Linked DNA regions of Homo sapiens: region 1 is linked to region 2. Evidence: promoter capture Hi-C in human tissues and cell types (Jung and others, 2019). All regions are on one chromosome and are shown on one strand. The core of a region is centred on a gene start or on the middle of the fragment in contact, and the rest is flanking DNA. Distances in the headings are between cores, read along the strand shown. Region 1 has its middle 13 kb from the start of LINC01567. Region 2 holds the start of SLC5A11 (solute carrier family 5 member 11).

Region 1 (3,592 bases), core at 1,093-3,592, 160 kb after region 2:
GAGTCCAGGAGTTTGAGACCAGCTTGGGCAATAAAGTGAGACTTCATCTCTACTAAAAAATAAACAAAATTCACCGGGCATTGTGGTGCGTGCCTGTAATCCCAGCTACTTGGGAGGCTGAGGTGGTAGGATCACTTGAGCCTGGGAGGCGGAGGTTGCAGTGAGCCAAGATGGTGCCACTGTACTCCAACCTGGGCCACAGAGAGTAAGGTCTTGTCTCTCCCCTTTCTGCCAAAAAAGAATACAATATGACCTTGGGTAAGTTAATTAGTCTTTCTGAGCCTCAGTTTCCCTACCGGTGTATACGCCACTACCTTGAAAGATTGTTGTGAGGTTAAATTTCCTGTACATTTTTTGAGCACTTACTCTAAGCTAAGCACTATGTCGGGCCCCGGAAGTATCATAGAAAAGAAGACAAACGCAATTCTAGGATCACACAGCCTGTGGATGGGCAGGTGCTTCCAGTTCAGAGAGAGAGAGAGACCCCTCTGGAAGCCCTGAGTTTGGAAGGATTTGGCCTCTTGGAAGAACTGCAAGAAGGCCAGAGGGGCTGAAGTTCCCAAGAGCATGGAGGCAAGTGTCAGAAGCTGGATTCCGTAGGGACCAGGGTAGCTTTTATCTCTAAAAGGGCTTCCCAGGCCTGACTCAGAGTGAGTTTAGAAGAAAGTGAAGTTTCATGTGCATTGTTAGAGGGTCTGTCCTGCCTGACACCGGCTGCTTTTGTGTGGGCCTTGAACTAAAAATGGTTTTAGTTTTTATTTTTATTAGAGACACAGTCTCGCTCTGTTGCCCAGGCTGGAGTGCAGTAATGTGATCACAGCTCACGGTAACCTCGAACTCTTGGGCTCTGGTTATCCTCCCACCTCAGCCTCCTGAGTAAGTGGGACTAAAGACAACTGTCACTTCACTCAGCCGATTTTTAAATTTTTTGTAGAGATGGGGTCTCACTCTATTGCCCAGGTTGGTCTTGCACTCCTGGCCTCAAGTGATCCTCCCATCTTGGTTTCCCAAAGCACTGGGATTACAGGTGTGAGCTGCTGTGCCCAGCCCTACATTTTAAAACACTGAAAAAGAATCCAAAGAAGAATACTATTTTGTGACATGTAAAAATTAGGTAAAATTCAAATTTCAGCATCTATAAATAAAATTGTGTTATGTTTTTGTTTTAAGACAGGGCCTCGCTCTGTTGCCCAGGCTGGAATGCGGTGGCTCGATCTCAGCTCACTGCAGCGTCTACCTCCTGGGGGCCAAGTGATCCTCCCACCTCAGCCCCCCAAGTAGCTGGGACCCCACGTGCCACCACCACACCTAGCTAATCTTGTTTATTTTATTTTTTTGTAGAGTTGAGGTCTCATTGTGTTGCCCAGGCTGGTCTCAAACTCCTGGGCTCAAGCAATCCTCCCACCTCAGTCTCCCAAATGGATTACAGGCATAAGCCATTGTGCCCAGCCATATAAATAAAGTTTTATTGACATACAGTCACACCCATTCATTAAGGATTGTCATGGGTGCTTTTGCACTACAATGGCAGAGTTGAATAGTGGTGACAAAGATGTTTGATTCACAAAGACTAAACTATTTACTACTACTCTGTTAAGAAGCTCACTGAGGCTTGGACAAGACACTCCTGGCTTTAGGGTGCAGAGTCTAATTAGGGAGAGCTCACACATCAGTACCTTTGAAGGGGAAGAGAGACTGGGAAGCAACAGTTCACTGTGAGTTAGTGTCGATGCCTATAATACCTTTATACCTGCTAGGGCTCACTAGGTGCAGGGCACTCTCCTTATTTTACCTCATTAAGTCCTGAGGCCTGTGGTTGTCCTTACTTTACAGATGAGGAAACTGAGGACAGCGAGAAGAGCTAAGGAAATTGCCCAAGGTTGCACAGCTAGTCGGTGGCAGAAACAGGACTTGAACTCGGGCAGTTTACCTCCAGAATCTGGGCTGTTAGCACGGCACTCTACCACCTCCCATGGGGAAGAGGGTGGCTGATGTTGGTGATGAACACAGCTGTGGCTTGTCTGCTGAGCCTTGCCTGAGCTACCATCTCACATGTCATAAAAACTGCAGGATAGGGGCTGGGCACGGTGGCTCATGCCTGTAATCCAAGCACTTTGGGAGGCCAAGTGGGAGGATCGCTTGAGCACAGGTGTTTAAAACCAGCCTGGGCAACATAGCAAGACTCCGTCTCTACAAAATAATTTAAAAAATTGCTGGGCATGGTGGTGTATGCCTGTAGTCCCACCTACTTGGGAGGCTGAGGTGGGAGGATTGCTTGAGCCCAGGAGGTTGAGGCTGAAGTAAACTATGATTGTGCCACTGCACTCCAGTGAGTGATAGAGTGAGAACTTGTCTCAAAAACAACAATAGTAACAACAACAAAAAAACACCAAAACCCAAAAAACTGCAGGAGAGCCTTTTCCTGCCACTAGAGCTGTTTTGGGGGCTTCCAGTATCTGATAAGAGTTTGTGCTCGTCATGGGGTCTCCTTGCTCTCAGTTCCAAGCTTCATAGCACATATGAGCCCAGGGCATTGGAGCCTCCAAAACTAGCTGGTGACCTTGGACAAGTTAATGAATCTCTCTGAGCCTCAGTTTTCCATTAGAATGTAAACAACTATCTTGAAGGATTATTGTGAGGGTTAAATTCAATGATGCATTTATCGAACACTTGGTGTACGCCTTGTGTCTTGGGAGGCTAAGTGTATACACTGTTCGATGGGCTCCCTTGTCTTCTGGCTTCCCATTGGTTTTGACCAATAGGGAGCCCCAGAAGATGATTGAGGAAGGGAGGAGACGGGGCTTGGGGCATTTATTCTCTGGCTGCTTCTCTGCGGTCATTCTGCGTGCTGGCTGCCTTAAAGTCACATTTCCCACCTCGGTGGCCCTCTCTCTATAGGCTTCTCAGTCTCTAGGGTACAGTGGTCATTCTTCCCCTTGGCCTTTCAGGCATAGGGGTGGTAACAGAAGCCAGCCTAATTAGTCCTGTGGATCCTTGCGGTTTTCTGCCCTCCGTTTGTAGAGTTCCTCTATTCAATCTTCCTTCAGCTGCGTGTGGTAGCTCATGCCTGTCATCCCAGCACTTAGGGAGGCCGAGGCAGGCAGACCGCTTGAGTCCAGGAGTTTGAGACCAGCCTGGACCATATGGCAAAACCCCATCTCTACTGAAAAAAAAAAAAAAAAAGCTGGGCGTGGTGGTGCACGCCTGTAGTCCCAGCTACTTGGGAGGCGAGGTGAGAGTATCGCTTGACCTTGAGAGGTTGAGGCTGCGGTGAGCTGAGATCACACCACTGCACTCCAGCCTGAGCAACAGAGCAAGACCCTGCCTTTAAAAAAAAAAAAATCAAACAAGTCCTCCTTTCATGACCTAATTTGAACATGTCTTCTCTTTCCTTCCCTTGACTGATGCATTCTTTGTTTACATTAATTACTCAAGTAGATCTGGTAGACTGTGTGCATTCTGCCCAGTTTCACAAAATAGCCACTCTCCAATTCCCCCGTACAACATTTACAGACAGTTGACTATCCTATCACAACTTACATCAGAGATGAATGATACTTATACTGGCGAGGCCGTGGGGAACAGAGGTGCT
Region 2 (3,938 bases), core at 1,313-3,812:
ATCCCTGCACAGTGCTGGGATTACAGGTGTGAGCCACCATGCCTGGCCTCCAGCTAACTTCTTATTTTGTAATTTTTTTGTAGAGACGGGGTCTTGCTATGTTGCCCAGACGGGTCTCAAACTCCAGGCCTCAAGCAATCCTCCCAACTTGGCCTCCCAAAGCACTGAGGTTGCAGGCATGAGCCACCTCACCCAGCCTTGCTTCCTTTTAATCCGCCCCTCACACGGAAGCCAGAGAAATCTTTAAGTATGAGTCAGATCAGATCATTTTCCTGCTCAAAACATCTCCATGCTGCTGGGGTGCTTTGTTGTGCTTCCAACCCCACCACATACTAGCATTCATTTTATTCCTGGAACACGATTTCTGGCCTCAGGGTCTTTGCCATTCTGTTCCCTCTGCCTGGGATGCTCTTCCCTGCACTCTTTGCTGGACAAGCTCCTACTCATCCTTTAGATGTCAGCCTGCTGTATATCCCCAAAGGAGCCCCCTCTTGGCCTCAATATAAATTGGGTCCCCAAGCTTTTTGCTTTCATGGCAAACACAACTTCTCATCACAGTCTAATCAAGTGTAACACTTGATGTGTGTGATTACCCCTTGTCTGCACTGCACAGCAAGCCCCATAAAGAAAGGTCCATGTCTCTGTCACTCTCATTGTGTCCCCAAAACAGGCATGCAATAAATGTTGGTACAACAAATAAATGTGGGATTTTTAGAGCCTTTGCTATAGATCCTTTGCACGCTGTGACCGCCCAAAAAAGGGACAGCATTTTTCCAAGTCCTATCTGCAGGATGCCCAATGGGCTAGGACACTTCTGTCAACTATTGCCCAGAATAATTCAGCAGAACACCATTTGAAAACCACTGATTGGTAGGGTGCAGTGGCTCATGCCTGTAATCCCAGCACTTTGCAAGGCTGAGGCGGGAGAATCGCTTGAGTTCAGGAGATTGAGACCAGCCAAGGCAACACAGGGAGACCCCATTTGTACAAAAAATAAAAATAAAAAAGTTAGCAGGGCATGCTGGTGAGCTATGATAGTACTACATTTCAGCCTGGGCAACACAGAGAGACCCTGTGAAAGAAAAGACAGAAAAGAAACGAGAGAGAGAGAGAACAGAAAACACACACAGAGAGAGAGAGGAGGCAAAGAAGGAAAGAAGGAAGGAGAAAGGGAAAGAAAGGAAGAAATAAATAATAAAAGAGAGAGAAGAAAGAAAGAAAGAAAGAAAAAAGGGAAAAGAAAGAGAAACAGAGAGGTGGGAGGGAGGGAAGGAAGGAAAGAAGGAAGGAGAAAGAAAGGGAAAGAAAGGAATAAGGAAAGAAATAAAAGAAAGAAGGAAAGAAAGAAAGAACAAAGAAAAGAAAGGAAAAGAAAGAAAAAGAAAGAAAGAGAAAAAGAAAGAAAGGAAAGAAAAAGAAAATCACTGATATTGTGGCTGAGCTCATGGCCACAGGAATTGAGTCTTGGCTTGGCCACTCACTATCTGTATTACCTTGAGCAAGTTATTTAATGACCCTTAGACTCTGTCCATGAATTAGGGGGTGCTGTACCTACCTTACAGGGTTTCTGTGTCAGTTAGATGAGATCCAGGCGTAAAGTTCTCTGCACGTGTCTGACACGTACCAGTGAAGACTTGTATTTGCCTTGTAGTTAACAGCAGCTGCAGTTGTAGTAAATACATTCCTATAGCTTTTTAATGCTTATGTGGATACATTTACCTTCGTTATCTCTGGGTAACACACCTGTGGGGTGGGTCAGCCTGAGGTTCATATTCCCATTTGACAGATAAGGAACCTGAGACTCGGTGAGGCAAAATGTTTGGCTCAATGTCCCTGACCTTGGTTAAGTGGAAGAGCTGGGACCCACGTACGGTGCTGCTGGCTGCCGGCTGCTGGCTTCATACCACCATGCCCACCCCACAAACACACTCCATTGTCCTGGTGTATGACAAGCTTTCTCTGCAGAGAGGGCTGAGCTTCCCCTGCCCCACAGGTGACAGCTGGAGTCCTTCTGCCAGCACCTGTCCCCAGACCAACTTCCCAGTTTGGAGAGTGGCTACCTGTTTGGGGGCAGGGGGTGTCTTACCTTATTCCAGATGCAGGGCTCACCTGCCCTGGGGGCTGTCAGTGGCTTCTAAGGCACTAGGAGGTGGCGGTGGTTGTAAGGAGGGAGATACCCGGGATCCTCTCTCTTTGCAGCCAAGAGCTTCCGGAGACAGCAGTGACCCTTCCTCCTATATGCCCGCTGCTGAGAGAGCCTCCAAGCGGGTCAAACTCCAAACTCCAGCCTCAGCTGCAGCGGGGATTAAAGGAAGCGTGAATGATCTCCCCAGGGCAGAAGAGAGAACGGGGCCCAGCCCAGGACCCTTGAACTCTGAGCAGGTGGGGAAGGTGACATGTCCCACGCTCTGCCCACACCGTCCTCCACCAGGGTCCTCACCTGCGTGGGGACCCATGGCATGGAGGGGTTGGGGAGACGCTGGAGCCCAAGGCACCATCCTGCTTCACTCACCCAGTCTTCCACTGTCCCGCCTCCACGCTGGGGACAGGCAGGCTTGGGACGAGCTGGAGGAAGGGGAGGGGAGGAAAAATGCTGGCGGCGGATGGAGGGGACAGAGGCAAAGTGCCAGGAGGGACGTCCAGCCACAGCCCTCACCGCAGTGGCAGCAACAGGAACAGCAACCATTGCTTGTGCAACCCCTTTCCATATACTCTTCAGACAGAGGCATGGCAAAGAACAGGTGTCTGCCTGAAGTCGAGAGTTCGAGACCAGCCTGACCAACATGGAGAAACCCCATCTCTACTAAAAATACAAAGTTAGCCGGGTATGGTGGTGCATGCCTGTGGTCCCAGCTACTCGGGAGGCTGAGGCAGGAGAATCACTTGAATCCGGGAGGCGGAGGTTGTGGTGAGCCGAGATTACACCATTGCACTCCAGCCTGGGCAACAAGAGCGAAAATCAGTCTCAAAAAAAGAAGAAGAAGAAGAAGAAGAGGTGTCTGAGGCCCTGAAAAACCGTCAGGAGTGACCGAGCCATGGCCAGGCGCCCACATCGGGCCCAGGACATCAGCGGGGCATAGCGAAGATTTCTGCCAGATGCTCAAAGCATCCAAAACTTTATTTACTTTTTATTTCTGAGACAGGATCTCACTCTGTCACCCAGGCTGGAGTGCAGTGGTGGCATCACAGCTTGCTGCAGGCTCATCCTCCTGGGCTCAAGTGATCCTCCCACCACAGCCTCCCGAGTAGCTGGGACTACAGGCGTGCACCACCACACCCAGCTAATTTTTTCATTTTTTTGGTAGAGAGAGAATCTTGCTATGTTGCCCAGGCTGGTCTCCAACTCCTGGGTTTAAGTGATCCTCCCACCTTGGCCTCCCAAAGTGCTGGGATTACAGGGGTCAAACACTGTGCCAGGCCAAATACCAAAACATTTTAAAAATAGTTACTAGTATTTGCAAACCAAGAGGCTTGAAACATAATTCTAGAATACTCACTTTTCTAGAACAACCTGAAGATCTGGCCTCACCAGGCCCCCATGGCCACAGGACAGCTGCTGACTGGGGAGGAGTCGTGGCCTCCCCATCTCACTCCTTCACTGGGCCTGCCAGGCTCTGGGGGGCCCTCAGCTGAGGCCCCTGTCCTGGCACCGAGTAGCCAGAAATAATAGCAGTGATGAACACGTGCCAGGCTCTAAGGGCACAACATGCCTTTACTCACTTGGTCTTTCCAACAACCCTCGAAGTTAGGTCCTGTTATCTCTATCTTACTGACGAGGTAACAGAGGTAGAGGAGATGAGTCATCGGCCCAGGATCACCCGGGTTGTAAGTGACACAGCAAGATTTCAGCCCAGGCCACCTGGCTCTAGAGTCCTGCAGGAGCAGTGGAGGGTGGCTTGACTGGATAAAGGGTGGCCTGGGTGAGCAAACACTGGGTG

The links. The method cuts DNA at HindIII sites, captures the fragments that hold promoters and counts their contacts. A contact is called where the count stands out against the background at its distance.
Region 1: a contact is called between a fragment that was not itself captured here and the fragment with the promoter of SLC5A11 in region 2, in 2 of the 25 tissues and cell types used here (hippocampus and spleen).

What each region holds. Positions count from the first base shown.
Region 1 is chr16:24,681,981-24,685,572 of GRCh38, reverse strand. It overlaps a transcript of TNRC6A not described here. Among named protein-coding and RNA genes, the nearest start is that of LINC01567, 13 kb to the right of the region's middle. RefSeq lists an enhancer at 1,229-1,819. The HindIII fragment of the contact is 7,032 bases long and covers 1-3,592 here.
Region 2 is chr16:24,844,587-24,848,524 of GRCh38, reverse strand. It overlaps SLC5A11 (solute carrier family 5 member 11), which reads right to left and starts at 2,562. Exons shown (of 17, transcript NM_001352248.3): 1 at 2,513-2,562; 2 at 2,087-2,293. The HindIII fragment of the contact is 12,271 bases long and covers 1,238-3,938 here.